Regions from separate parts of the Homo sapiens genome. Here all the other regions are linked to region 1. Evidence: promoter capture Hi-C in 16 types of primary human blood cells and fetal thymus (Javierre and others, 2016). All regions are on one chromosome and are shown on one strand. The core of a region is centred on a gene start or on the middle of the fragment in contact, and the rest is flanking DNA. Distances in the headings are between cores, read along the strand shown.

The links. Contacts are between HindIII fragments. The CHiCAGO score rates a contact against its expected background, and 5 or more counts as called.
Region 2: a fragment that was not itself captured here is called in contact with the fragment with the promoter of RELN in region 1 in 1 of 17 cell types (endothelial precursors); the score reaches 5.2 in endothelial precursors.
Region 3: a fragment that was not itself captured here is called in contact with the fragment with the promoter of RELN in region 1 in 1 of 17 cell types (endothelial precursors); the score reaches 5.1 in endothelial precursors.
Region 4: a fragment that was not itself captured here is called in contact with the fragment with the promoter of RELN in region 1 in 1 of 17 cell types (endothelial precursors); the score reaches 5.7 in endothelial precursors.
Region 5: a fragment that was not itself captured here is called in contact with the fragment with the promoter of RELN in region 1 in 1 of 17 cell types (endothelial precursors); the score reaches 6.9 in endothelial precursors.

Annotation. Positions count from the first base shown.
Region 1 is chr7:103,988,296-103,991,159 of GRCh38, reverse strand. RELN (reelin) reads left to right here and starts at 1,502. Exons shown (of 65, transcript NM_005045.4): 1 at 1,502-2,029. The coding sequence starts at 1,804. The HindIII fragment of the contact is 6,896 bases long and covers 1-2,864 here.
Region 2 is chr7:103,636,811-103,639,630 of GRCh38, reverse strand. The region is part of intron 17 of RELN (reelin); the gene reads left to right. Among named protein-coding and RNA genes, the nearest start is that of SLC26A5, 190 kb to the right of the region's middle. The HindIII fragment of the contact is 1,886 bases long and covers 397-2,282 here.
Region 3 is chr7:103,531,989-103,534,688 of GRCh38, reverse strand. The region is part of intron 46 of RELN (reelin); the gene reads left to right. It overlaps LOC105375435 (a long non-coding RNA gene), which reads right to left and starts at 99. Exons shown (of 3, transcript XR_001745315.2): 1 at 59-99. The HindIII fragment of the contact is 1,837 bases long and covers 374-2,210 here.
Region 4 is chr7:103,664,855-103,667,644 of GRCh38, reverse strand. All of the region lies in intron 11 of RELN (reelin), which reads left to right. Among named protein-coding and RNA genes, the nearest start is that of SLC26A5, 220 kb to the right of the region's middle. The HindIII fragment of the contact is 2,267 bases long and covers 316-2,582 here.
Region 5 is chr7:103,554,601-103,557,300 of GRCh38, reverse strand. It overlaps RELN (reelin), which reads left to right. Exons shown (of 65, transcript NM_005045.4): 38 at 142-324. Among named protein-coding and RNA genes, the nearest start is that of SLC26A5, 110 kb to the right of the region's middle. The HindIII fragment of the contact is 2,672 bases long and covers 29-2,700 here.

The sequences.
Region 1 (2,864 bases), core at 253-2,752:
ATTTTTTGCCTCTCCAGTTGGTGTTAGGATTAAAAAGCTAAAGTACGTCTAGCCCCACAGCCTGCACCCCGCAGAGCTACAGTGTAGCAATTGTTACCACATCATATATATATATATGCACATACATATATGTATACACTGTATATTATTTATATGGCAGTTAAGCCTCTGGGGATTTTGAAGTAAGGGAAACAAGAAGCCAGCTAGAAATGGGCCCTTTCTACCTGTCATTCGGTCTCAGTAAGAGGAAGAAAAACAATTTCTTCCTTTTGCAACGAAGTGATTACAGAGGTCTCCCCTTGGACCCTGATTTTCACCGCCCCTCGCCCCACAAATGCAGGCAAAGGCACTATCCCTTCCAATTTTATAATCTACTCATTTCTGTACGTGCGGGTTTATCTGGCTTGGTGGCAAGCCAAGGGTGGGTGGGGAGAGGCATTAAAACCTGGCAACCCCGCTCCCCCATCTCCGGATGCCGCAGGGCTCCTGCCAGCCGTCCTCGGTTAAAAACGTGCTTATGGATTATTTCACTTCCCTGCAGTTCATGTGCAGCCGCTCATTACCACCCGCTTCAATCACCGCTGCCAGCATCTCCCCTGAACGTTTTTCCCTCCCCCGATTTCAGGGCCATTGGTCATAACCGACATTTAAAGGAAATAAACACTGATTTAAAAAATTACAACACCCATCTCTGCCTGAAGAGCCCAGAAGCAATGAATAACAGAACAGTCCGGCGAAGAGAGCCTGTCGGATCTTAGCTCCGCCAGCCCTTCCTGCCTTACAATTCCCCACAACCGAGCAGCACAAATCACCATTTCCAGGCACCACTCGAGTCTGCCAATTCCACTTTCGCTTAATCTCATTTTAAAATCCTCTACAGATGAGGCTCTGTCGCTGCCGCGAGGGGCCGGGCGGCCGCGGCGGGAGGGACAGGGGGCCTGGGTGGGAAGGGAGCGCGAGGGCCCCTAGCGGTTCGCGGCCTCGGGCGGATTCCCAGAACGAGTGCGGGCCGCCCGGACTGGCAGACTGCGAGCCCCGAGGGGCGCGGGACGCAGCCGGCTCAGACAAAGAAACCGGCGCCAGCGGCCGTCCCTGCCGCCCCTCTCCTTCCCTCACGCATCCTCCCAGGAAAAACAGGGCACACTGACGGCCAAAGGGGCTGGCCTTCCCCTTCAGACAGCTGGACGGGAGGTGCCCTCTGCGGGGCTTTGACGTCCCTCGCAGAAGAGTCGCGGGCTCAGCGGTCCTCGACAGCGTCCCCGTCCCGCTCCCCGGCGGGCGCCCCTCCCTGTCCTCCCGGGTGCGAACCGGGCGCTGGCCGGGGACTCCGGGGACGCGTGCGCCCCTCGCCGCGCGAGGTGCCGCCGAGCCAGCCCGAGAGGGCGGGGGGCGGGCGGGGCGGCGCGCGGGGGCGGGGGAGCGGCCGGGACACGTGTGGCGGCGGCGGGGGGGACGCGGCGCCCGGGGCTTTAAGAAGGTGTGGAGCGGGGCGGGCGCTTTCCCAGGCCTGGCCGAGGGGCGTCGCGCAGAGGCGGCGGCGGCGCACGGAGGCGGCAGACGACGCGCTCTCGGCGCCCGCAGCCCCGGTCCCGCGCTCCCGCGGCCCAAAGTAACTTTGGGAGCCGCCGTCTCCCGCGGAACTTCTCGGCGGGGGCCCGCTCCCAGGCCCGCTCCCGAGCCCGTTCCGCTCCCGTCCGCCTTCTTCTCGCCTTCTCTCCGCGTGGCTCCTCCGTCCCGGCGTCTCCAAAACTGAATGAGCGAGCGGCGCGTAGGGCGCGCGGCGGCGGCGGCGGCGGCGGCGGCATGGAGCGCAGTGGCTGGGCCCGGCAGACTTTCCTCCTAGCGCTGTTGCTGGGGGCGACGCTGAGGGCGCGCGCGGCGGCTGGCTATTACCCCCGCTTTTCGCCCTTCTTTTTCCTGTGCACCCACCACGGGGAGCTGGAAGGGGATGGGGAGCAGGGCGAGGTGCTCATTTCCCTGCATATTGCGGGCAACCCCACCTACTACGTTCCGGGACAAGAATACCATGGTAGGTACCGCAGCACCTCCGCGCTCGCCGCCGCCGGGTGCGCCCGCCAGCGCACCTTTCTCATCCCTTTCCTTCTTCCAAGGGGCCTTGGAAACAAGAACCATGACAACCCTGGCCCCAGCGATGCGCTTGGTCCAGGGAGCGAGAATAAAGTTAGTGGAGAATGGAGTCACAAGTTGGGATTCATTCTCCATGTCCCCACTCCCCGAACGCATCTCCTGGTAATGAGCTGGTGCTTGTGCTAAACGCCTGAGAATTCTTGGAGGCCGGTGTCTTTCCCCCTCACTCCCCGTACTTACCGCAGGCACTTTAAATTGAACCTGCGCATTTTGTTTCTTTACTCCTAGGACTTGGATTTCAGACCTTTGTCCTGCTCCCGGTCCCCCCAGATGGGTCCCCGGGGGGGCGTTGGGGGCTGTCGCTGGGCTTTGCGGGCAGGCTGGTGACAGATTGAAGCGCCCAGGTCTGTGGCTGCCCCGCGCCGCTCGACCGCAAAGTTCCCGCTGCTCACCAGCCAGGAGTCCCTGGCATTTCATTCAGTGTCATACAGCCCTCCTGAAAGGGAGCGGCTGCTTCCAGCTCCCTATTCTTTTGAAAGTGTGATTTAATATGTCAGTAATTGATGATTTTTCTGATTCCTGCCTTACTTTTACATGGTGCTTCTTGTTAGAATTATCTTTGTGATGTTTATTAATGACTTTGTATTTTATCTGCACAGCTTTAATTTCCAGGTAGAGGCTGGAATCCCTTATAATTTAGAGGTATCTTAAAAATGGAATCATTATGCAGCCCTGCATCAAAAATAAACATTACAGAAGAAATAAAATTTAGCTCC
Region 2 (2,820 bases), core at 90-2,589, 350 kb after region 1:
GTCAGGAGTTCGAGACCAGCCTGGCCAACATGGTGAGACCCGATCTCTACTAAAAATACAAAAATTAGCCGGGCGTGGTGGCGTGCATCTGTAATCCCAGCTACTCGGGAGGCTGAGGCAGGAGAATCACCTGAACCCGGGAGGTAGAGGTTGCAGTGAGCCAAGATCGTGTCACTGCACTCCAGCCTGGGCGACAGAGTGAGACTCCATCTCAAAAAAAAAAAAAAAGAGAGAAAAAGAAAAAAAAGAAATTGCATGTATGAGCCAAGCGCTTGTTGACATTGAGATTAGTGTGGCTTTTTAACTTTCTAACTATATTTCAGTGAATTTAGTTAACAAAGAGATCACTTTTCCCAATGGAAATTTTTTATAAAGTATGTGAAGAATTGAAAAGCTTCCATCTATATTTCCAAACTGAATATGCATTCCTGTGTTTTCTAGTAAAACTACCAACTCCCATTCCAAAACACTGGTCAGTAGATCTATGAAACATTGGCTGATATCTTCCTCAAGTTGTTATGTGCATCCATTATCCATAATCAGACCATCTTCTTAGTGTATTTCAAATAAAATTAACATGAGGCCAGATAGTTTTGCAAATCCTGATGTTGTCCTAAAAAGTTTTGGGGAAAAAAATTACCTAGAATGACAACTTTTATTTTCAAAAAATAGAAAGTGGCATTTCTAAAAAGACCTATCCATAATTACAGTAGTTATACTTCAGACTTCATTTTATGTGTATCATATTCCTCTTAGAATTAAGTGGTTTCATTAAGGCTACCATCTATGCCACCCATGGTGGATACAAACAAATCTAAATGGTAGCTTTATGCTTTTGGACATTGTTCTTTTTTGACACCATCCATTATTCCGAATAGTCATAGTCTTTTCCTCCTTCTGAGGTTTTATGGAATATTTTCACCATTTAGAACTTTAGTGTTTTTCCCTATTTCTAACAATGTTTTATGTAATATTCATTGGCTTTGTTCGCTTACGGCTGGGCTAAAAGTTTGACTACTACCTCCTTTTCCAGCAATGTGTACCTTATTGAATTTGAGCAAAATCACACAGAAAAGAAATGTATATGTAATACCACTTACTTCCTTTAAACAAATCATTGAATCTGGGACCTTTGCAACTTTATATTTTTCTCTCCTCTTTACTCCACCTCTCCCCCGTGTTTTACTGCTATTTGCTATCAAGATTCTACTCTCTCATGTTCCCTCTAACACTTTCTGGCCTGTGTACAATCCCAGGCCTGGTTCTCTAAATGGACACACTACTAACCTGATAAGCCCAACCCTGTTAGAGATGCTAATGAGGAGACAGAGCATTAGAACCCCTTTCTTCACGAGTGTCATCCATGTAGCTTAACAGTGGGGTGATTTTCCTGACATTACAGGGTGACTATACCGCTAAATTTAAGCATGTGTAGATGGATTAGTAGCAGACATATTGGGAGTCAGGAGAGCCTCGTGTCATACCCGAAATCACCAATGTGTGTGACCTTGTTGTTTTGCTGAGAAACAAAGACTACAAAGTTTTTTGTTTTTTTTAAAAAATATTTTTAAAAAACTACTTTATCTTTATCAGCATTATATCTCAACTGAATAACCTTTGATTAAAAGTAGACTTTTAAAACGACTAAATGGAAAGTGACTCCAATGTGAGTCATCTCTAAACGATCACCAGTTTCTCCCAGTCACTTGTCCTGAGAAGACACATTTAAGATACACAAAAATGTAATTGCCCTAAAATGCACTCTGGAATAGATAGTCTTGCTAAGGAAAATTAATTCCAATTCGTGACTGTGGTAAAACACATTCAGTTTCCTGACTTTAAAATGTGTTCAATTTAGCTGATTTTAAAAATTCTTTTTTGGAAACAACTTGGCTATTCAGTCTAAGTTCAGTCTAAGTCCATTAGACAACATGTGAAAGAAGGCTCATCCAGTAAATATTGGCTTTCCTTTCATCCCCTTATTGATGCTACTTAAGATACCAAGACAACCTTCAAACTTCATGCTACAGTAGTTCTTAGCATTTTAGGCTCCAACTTATTTGGTAATCTGATAAAACCTATGGACCTTCTCCCCAGAAAATCCAATATACATAAAACTGGTCATTTGATTTAGCATATTTTTACATTCCATGGACTCCTTGAAAGGCCAGCATAGACCCAAGTCTCAGTAGTACTGCCAAAGAAGTATCCTGAGTCATGCCATAGTATCACTTCATTGGTACACTTGCTTTGTAAAGGCTTGTTTCAGACTTCAGCAAGCTTTGAATGCTCCCATGAGAATCCCCCACTCAAAAAGATACCAATTGAGCAACATTATAAATGTAGTGAGAAGGAAATAGCACAGTAAAAACAAATAATTTGAAACTATTTCCTGATGAATAATCTCCTTAAAACGTAGATGTTTCCATTGCTGATTCATCTGTGATGAGGTTTTCTCACTGATAGAAAACTTGGGGCACTCCTGTATATTCTAGTCAGCTAATATAAATACAGCACATTCTTACATAGAAGCAAGCAGGTTGTTGGGGAGTGGGGAAAGGTTTGTTTTTCTTGAAGTGCCACTAATTTGGGAGAGTCCACTGAGAGGCAACACAGTTCTGCTAAGGACATCTATCTAGGTCAAGGGTGTACACATTCCCTTTATACATCTGAAATAGTTAAAGATAGATTCATTTTCCAATAGTTTCTAAATATTTAAATTAATTCCTATCACGAACATAACATGTATTTTAACATTTGTTCTTAGAAAAAATTTATTCTGGGTATCTTATTGGAAGTGCTTTATGCTGTTTCTTTTAT
Region 3 (2,700 bases), core at 43-2,542, 460 kb after region 1:
GCGAGACCCCATCTCTACAAAAAAAATTAAAAAATTAGCCAGGCATGGTGGTACCTACCTGCAGTCCCAGCCACTCAGGAGGCTGTGGCAGGAGGATCACTAGAGCCCAGGAGTTTGAGAATGCAGTGAGCTATGATCATGCCACTGCACTCCAGCTTGGGTGTCAGAGCCAGACCCTGTCTCAAAAAAAAAAATTAAAAATTAAAGTAAATAAAATTGCCTAGTAAATTCTGATAAAGAAGTTAAATCTAAATTATCTGTGCATTTCCACTCCTGTTTGAGTAAAGCAGAGAATTAGCTTTGCCTAGTGGAATAGTGTTACATGACACTCTCTCTTTCACCATCTAAACTAGGTGCTAATTATAGGAAAGCTTTAACATCTTGATAGAAACTCCTATTTCCTCCAAGAAAATGGTTTTCAGTTGCTGCATTAAGAAAGAAGCAAAGCAACCAATCCAGTGTGTGGAACAGGAGTTATAGTTTGGGCTTATTATTGTTTTGTCATCTTCCCACAAATGAAGAATGAATAAATTTTCCTAGCAAATGACCATAAAATTCAACCATTCATCTAGGGCATAACTTTTCTTAGGATTATCATAAATGGGATGGTTTCAGTTAGTAACAGCCTAGGGCTGCTTTACAATTGCTGGCTCAGAGGTACGAGACTATATTAACTGTCAGCAGAGTTGCCAAGTTTAAATGAGATACGTGAGATTTTGTTGCTCATTAAAGGTGTTGCCATGCATGAATTATTAAAGCGATCTTAATAAGTAAAATAGAAAAAAAAACTCCATTAAGGCAACAGTCTTTTAAGTCTTTATGAATTCTATGAATTATTACCCAGCTACTCAGTCACATTTTGCAAATAAGCGACATTCTAAGATTTACTCCAGCTAGTCATTATGCCCTTGAGTCTTTTACTCAAGAAAAGTAATTATTTCTCATCTTTTAATCTATCTTTTAATTGTCTCTTGTACATACCCACAAGAATTTTGACCCTTTCAAATGTTATTTGAAAAATCTGATGAGCATCCATTTCCCCCTGTTCTGTACTGAAAATAAGCAGTTTGTTTATTATATTACCCTCAAGGCTCATGTACAATTGTCTTAAAGGTGACACTGCCTTGTAACAAGGCCCTTTGGGTAATTCAGAAAGAAATGTGCATGGAGGGAGCCCAAGCCAGAGTCACTTCTCTGCCATATGCCAAAGATCATTAGAACAATATGCCAGTCTCAGAGTTACTTGTTTCGAACATGAGTAAACATATCTACACTACATCTACATTTATATTCAGTTACTTGGTAAATATGGTGTTTCCTTGTTTTAAATTAAAATCGCTGTCTCTGTTATCTGGAAACGTATTGAAATGTCAATGTTTATTAAGCAGGCCAGAATTGAGGATTTCAGTTTGTAGCTCTTCGCTATAAAGAAACGTGATGCTGACAACTTAAAGACATGTGCTCAGTAAGGGTTAGGAATGACTGTGACCATGTCACAACTGCAGCCTTGTCTACTCAACACATGACCATAAGGCTAGGATCCCAGTATTGTTGGCACAGTACTAGTGAGTGTCAGCTGAGGTTGGCTGGTCACAAATTGACGTCAAACCATTCACCAAACTAAAATGGTCACTAGTCATCAGTAGCAATTATTCATTCAGTCACTCATTAAACAAATATTTTTAACTGCTTAATTATGTGCTAGGCCTATGAGGGAGCTGAACTGATCCCTGACTCAAGGAGCTTTTAATTTGGTAGGAGAGGAGTATTGGCCAGAAATCACCAATAATCACAGGAGTAAATATAAAATTCAACTGTGATAAGTGATGGAGAACAGGTACATGATGCTCTAAGTTTCTGTATCGTAGGGTGATGTGACCTGGTCAAGAAGGCCAAGGAATGCTTTCTTGAAAAAAGGATAATTGAGGTAAGATATGAAGGTTGAATACAAGTTAACCAGGTAAAGTGTAAGGGTAGGAGTGTTCCAAGCAAGGATAGCAGCCAATTGTAGGAGGGGACAGGTGTATTTGAGATGCTGAATATATGGATCAGATAGAGAGAGGAGCAAGGTGAGGTATGAGATGGTGTCAGACCATGAAGAGCATTGTAGGTTGTATTAAAGATTTGGAGGTTCATTATAGGAACACTTAAAAGCCTGTTAAAGTGTTTGGCAATAGGGAGACATGAACAGATTTGCATTCAGAAAAGCTTCTTCTTTTTTTTTTCATTTCCAGCTTTTAAGTTCAGGGTTCCATGTGCAGGATGTGTAGGTTTGTTACATAGGTAAACATGTGCCGTGGTGGTTTGCTGCACAGGTCATCCAGTCACTTAGGTACTAAGCCCAGCATCCATTAGCTATTCTTCCTGATGCTTTCCCTCCTCCCACTCCCCACTTTCCAACAAGCCCCAGTGTGTGTTGTTCCCCCCTTGTGTGTCCATGTGTTCTCATTGTTCAGCTCCCACTTATAAGTGAGAACATATGGTATTTGGTTTTCTGTTCCTGCATTAGTTTGCTGAGGATAATGGCTTCCAGCTCCATCCACATCCCTGCAAAGGACATGATTCTCATTCCTTTTTATGGCTGCATAGTATTCCATGGTGTATATGTACCACATTTTCTTTATCCAGTCTATCATTGATGGGCTATTAGGTTGATTCCATGTCTTTGTTATTGTGAATACTGCTGCAGTGAACATATGT
Region 4 (2,790 bases), core at 200-2,699, 320 kb after region 1:
CTGTCCATATATTGAGAACTCAGCCTGTGGCTTAAATATATTGCTTAGAGACACTTTGATATATAAGCTTTGGATGAAGAAATTATGGCTAATAAACATTATATTTATTTTCCTGAAAAGAAACATATCTTCATGCCTTAGGATAATTATTAATATTCAGTAACTAACAATTGTTTTTATTTATAAAATTGCTTTTTATATAATAAAGTCACCAAGGATATTTAGAAACAAGAAAAAAGTTAATAACCAGACTACATTTAAAAATTGATTATTTAACATGTTAAAATAAATTGAACCTACTCTAAAAGAGAAGCTTGCTGATTTGAAAGATGACATCGTCCTTTAATTTGTTAACACTCCTGATGACATAATTAAATGAGAGCCTAAAATGAACTAATTAGCTTACCTCTTTTAGTTCCCCATCATTGCTAATAGTAATCAGCCAGCTGAAAATTTGAAGCTGTGACAACAAGGCTGGCTGAGCTCATGCAATTCCTTTTCCTCTGCAAATCCATAGAAATGTTGGATCAAGTATGATAATTTTCTTCAATATGTAGCCCTAGGATAGGGGAGGAAATGAGCAGATACCTAAAACAAAGGGAAATTAAAAACCTGAGTAATAAGCCTTTAGCTGAAACTTAGGCAGTTCAGGATGGACTGAACATATGTAATCGAAGGCTGAAGATTAGAGTTAAAAATACTCACACAGGATCTTTGGCAGATGACAGATAGAACTGATACTCTTGTATAAATACGGGACCCTGAAGAGCTCCTTCTCCATAAAGAAGTAATTAGGATAACAACTTCTCTCATTGATTCAAGTGTGAAAAAAAAAATCTCCCAGAAGAATGGAAACTCCAAACAAATGTGAAATTCACATTCATTCCACCCAGGTGGTGGGAAAATTCTAAACTGAGGAATTAATGTAAAAAGAAATTCAGGACCAGGGAACCTCCAAGATGCTCACAAACGCAAATGCAGAACCCCTTTGTAAAAATATTTCTTCTACACAAAGTGTGTAAAATTAACACTGGAAATAAGTCCACTAAAGTTGAGCTCACAACAAGAATTATGATCTGTGTGATTTTATGATTCACCAAAAAGGACAGTCATCAGATATGACAAACAGAAGAATAAGTGCATTCCAATTGAGATAAGAGAGATATGAGATAAATATGATTAAATGATTTAAAAGATTTTTTAAATCTAAGTCATTTTGAAAGAAGAGGGTACTATGAGAAAAGAACAAGCAAATATTAAAAAGAATCAAAGAAGTGGGGCACAGTGGCTGACACCTGTAATCCCAGCACTTTAAGAGGCCAACATCGGTAGATTGCTTGAGCCCAGGAGTTTCAGACCAGCCTGGGCAACGTGACAAAACATCATCTCTAAAAGGAAAAATACAAAAATTACCTGGGCATGGTGGTGCCTCCTTGTAGTCTCAGCTACTCTGAGGAGAGCCTGAGGTGGGCGGTTCGCTTGAGCCCAAGACGTTAAGGCTACCATGAGCCATGAATTGCACCACTGCACTCCAGCCTGAACAACAGAGCAAGACCATTTCTCAAAAAAAATAAATAAATAAAAAATAAAAAAATCAAAGAAAACTTTTTAAAATGAAAAATACAGTGATAGAAATTAAGTATTAACTATAAAGGTAAAAATATAGAAACAACTGAAGAGAGAATTAGTATACTGAACTAGAGACAGATCTGAGAAAAAAACACATAATGCAATATAAAAAGAAATAAAGATTAATGAGAGAGTGAGAGACACGGAGAATAGAATATGACATTTCAATACAGGTCCCATAGAATTTCCAGAAGGAATATAGAATGAATAGAGGATAGTTAATATTTGAAAAGATAGTGACTTACATTTTTCCAGACCTGATTAAAGGTTTGAATCCCCAAACTGACAAGGTACACCAAGTTTCCATAGAATAAATAAAATAAACCTATACCTACATACACTGCAGAAAAATTTTAGAATACCAAAGACAAAAAAGCAACCAGAGAGAAAGAAAGATTATTTACAAAGAAGCAACAATTCAATAGATAACTTCTTATCAGTAACTAAAGAGACATCGGATTCTTGTCGAGATCCAAGTAGGGTTTTTAATAGAACTCAACAAAGTGATTCTAACATTCATTAGGAAGAGTTAACAAGGGCAACAGTAGCCAAGACAATTGTGAAGAAGTGAAAGGTGTGGCTGAGGGACAGAGGGAGCTCAGCTATCAAGAGCTATTTTACATATACAGATTTTATATATATATATATATATACACACACACACACACACACACACACCATATGTATGATATTTAAATTGGTTTGGACACGGAGATGGACATATAGACTAATGGAGGAAAAAAGAGAGGCAAGTTAATTGTAGAAACAGACTCACGTTTATAGGGGATTGTTATGTGACAGAAGTGGCATTACCAATAATTAGGGCCAACGGTTAACAGTTCTGGAATAAATGCCTATCTGTATAGAAAAAACCATATTGGATCTCAAACTCATTCCTTACCTCAAATCAATTTCAGGTTCATTAAAACCACCTAAATGTGAAAAGCAAAGCTTTAAAACTTTTAGAAGAAAATATAGACGAGTATCTCTATGATTTGAGGGTAAGGGAGAATCAGATAAAAAAGGCACAAAGCATAGAGAAAAGATAGATAAATTCTACTATATTAAAATTAAAACTCATCCATACATCCAACGACACATAAACAAAGTGAAAAAAAGTACAATACAGATAGTCAAGAAAAGATTACTACCTGGAATATA
Region 5 (2,700 bases), core at 115-2,614, 430 kb after region 1:
GCTTCTGAAGCATTTGGACTATAAAGCTTCCATGTAAACATAAGTTCTCTTATGCATTGATGCCTAAAGATTCAGCTAAGAACATACCATTTCCCCATTTTTATCACAGTATGTTTTATACCTGTGTTATCTTCTTCCTAGGTACCCCAGAGAGATCTCACTCTATTCTGTTACAATTCTCCATCAGTGGAGGAATCACTTGGCACCTGATGGATGAATTTTACTTTCCTCAAACAACGAATATACTTTTCATCAATGTTCCCTTGCCATACACTGCCCAAACCAATGCTACAAGATTCAGACTCTGGCAACCTTATAATAACGGTAAAAATGCATGTGTTCTCCTGTGATCAGAACTGATAGTGGCATGTTAACACATTTGTTTCTAAGGTGTGGAGGAAGTGTTTGTCAACTGAGCAGCTTAGCTGTCCACAGCACACACATTTTACATGCTTCACTTTTGACAAATGTATTAGTCCGTTTTCGTGCTCTTGATAAAGACAAACCCAGACTGGGAAGAAAAAGAGGTTTAATCGGACTTACACTTGCACATGGCCAGGGAGGCCTCAGAATCGTGGCGGGAGGCAAAAGGCATGTCTTACATGGCAGCAGCAAGAGAAAATAAGGAAGATGCAAAAGTGGAAACCCCTGATAAACCCATCAGATCTCATCAGACTTATTCACTGCCACAAGAACATTATGGAGGAAACTGCTCTCATGATTCAAATTATCTCCCACCTGGGTCCCTCCCACAATACATGGGAATTATGGGAGTACAATTCAAGATGAGATTTGGGTGGGGACACAGAGCCAAACCGTATCAACAAGTCTCAATAAATATTTAAATATTTAACATATATATATATATATACACGTATATATAATCTCTTCATATTTGACTAGTGGGTTCTCCTGTTAATGTAAATATAGCTGAATTCTGTTACAGAGCTAAAGATTTTTAAAAATAATCCAGCATTATCATTAGGCACTCATCAGTTGTAATGACATTTTTGTTGCATTTATTTGGGAATACATAGTTCTTCTGAGTGTGGCGTTTCATTAGTGAAATAGAATACTATAGCAAAATGCCATGACGAAGTGAGAGGGACTTAGACCAAGCAGATAGTGCCGTAGATAAAATATTCTTATCACATACACTTGCTTCAGTGATAAGTTAAAGTGAATGTATAATTTAATACATTTCAAATGGTTACAGAAAATGATTCTACAAATTGGTAATGTTTTATTGCTTTCTATATTTCTATTAACTGCTGATTATAAAGGACCAGACTTTACCAAGTCATGCATATAATCACCTAAATAAGCATGGAGATGCCACATTAAGCAGCAGATTCTTTGCAGAGGCAACACAAAAATGGAAAAGGCAAAGGTTCTTCCATCTCTAAAATTTAACCTATTTCCTTAACAATATGTTAAAACTAAAACATAAAACAAAATTTTTAATGTATTGTGAAACATATATGTATACATACATCTTGTCACTGAATAAAAGTCCAAAAAAGGAATGTGCCAGGCGCAGTGGCTCACAACTGTAATCCCAGCACTTTGGGAGGCCGAGGCAGGTGGATCACCTGAGGTCAGGAGTTCAAGACCAGCCTGGCCAACATGATGAAACCCCATCTCTACAAAAATACAAAAAAATTAGCTGGGCGTGGTGGCACACACCTGTAATCCCAGCTACTTGGGAGTCTGAGGCAGGAGAATCACTGAACTTGGGAGGCAGAGGTTGGAGTGAACCGAGATCATGACACTGCACTCCAGCCTGGGTGACGGAGGGATTGCTGTCTTCATACTATGTTTGGAGTGCTCACCTAATTATTTTTTCATTGATTCCACCAACCACTTTCTAAACAAGAAGAGGAAAGAATGCTACTAGAATTAGAACACTGATAGGATTAGAGATAGAGACCTGTGATTTCATTCAAAGCATCAGGTTTGTTCTACAGGCTCCTGTTTACAGATCCTTTTTTATGTTTTGTAAGAATTGCACTGAAGTAGAAATCAGTGAAGAAGCAACCTAGGGAATCTTGACGTTCCTGCTTGGCATGGACTTATCACCTTTTTTCAAGGTCAGTCCAAACAGTGCTTTACAAAAGCAGCCTGGCTTTTGCCGTTATTATCTACTCTAACATATTCCTTAAACACCTGGTCTAAATCACTGAATCAAATACTATAGCAGTATAAAGGGTGATTTCCCTAGTTTCCTATATATTCCCACAGTATCTCCAGATCAACATAGAAGATATGAAAAACATTAAGAAAACATGGAGTATTATTGATCATAGAATATTTTTCTTCTGTATTAAATAAACAAATAAATGCAATTACGTATCAGGGCATTATTTTAATGGCCATAGTCCTTCAGCCTGACTGAAGTATGGTGCTAAGCCATGGGTTGGCCCTAAAAAGCATGAATTGCTCCCTGAATAGACTGATTAGTGTTCCTCGGCTCTAAGTCCACTAACTGACCACTCATTCTCACAGACTGCATGTCTCACAGATTCCCCTAAACCACTAAAACACAACTCAAAACCCACTCTTGCCAGGGGAGGGTTCATAGCACTGCTATTATTTGAAGGACAGCATGCTTTCACATACATTATATACACAGCATTGTCACAGCTTTCTGAAATTAGCAAGGCAGTTCCATGGTATATCAATTTAATATGGTTGCAAGCT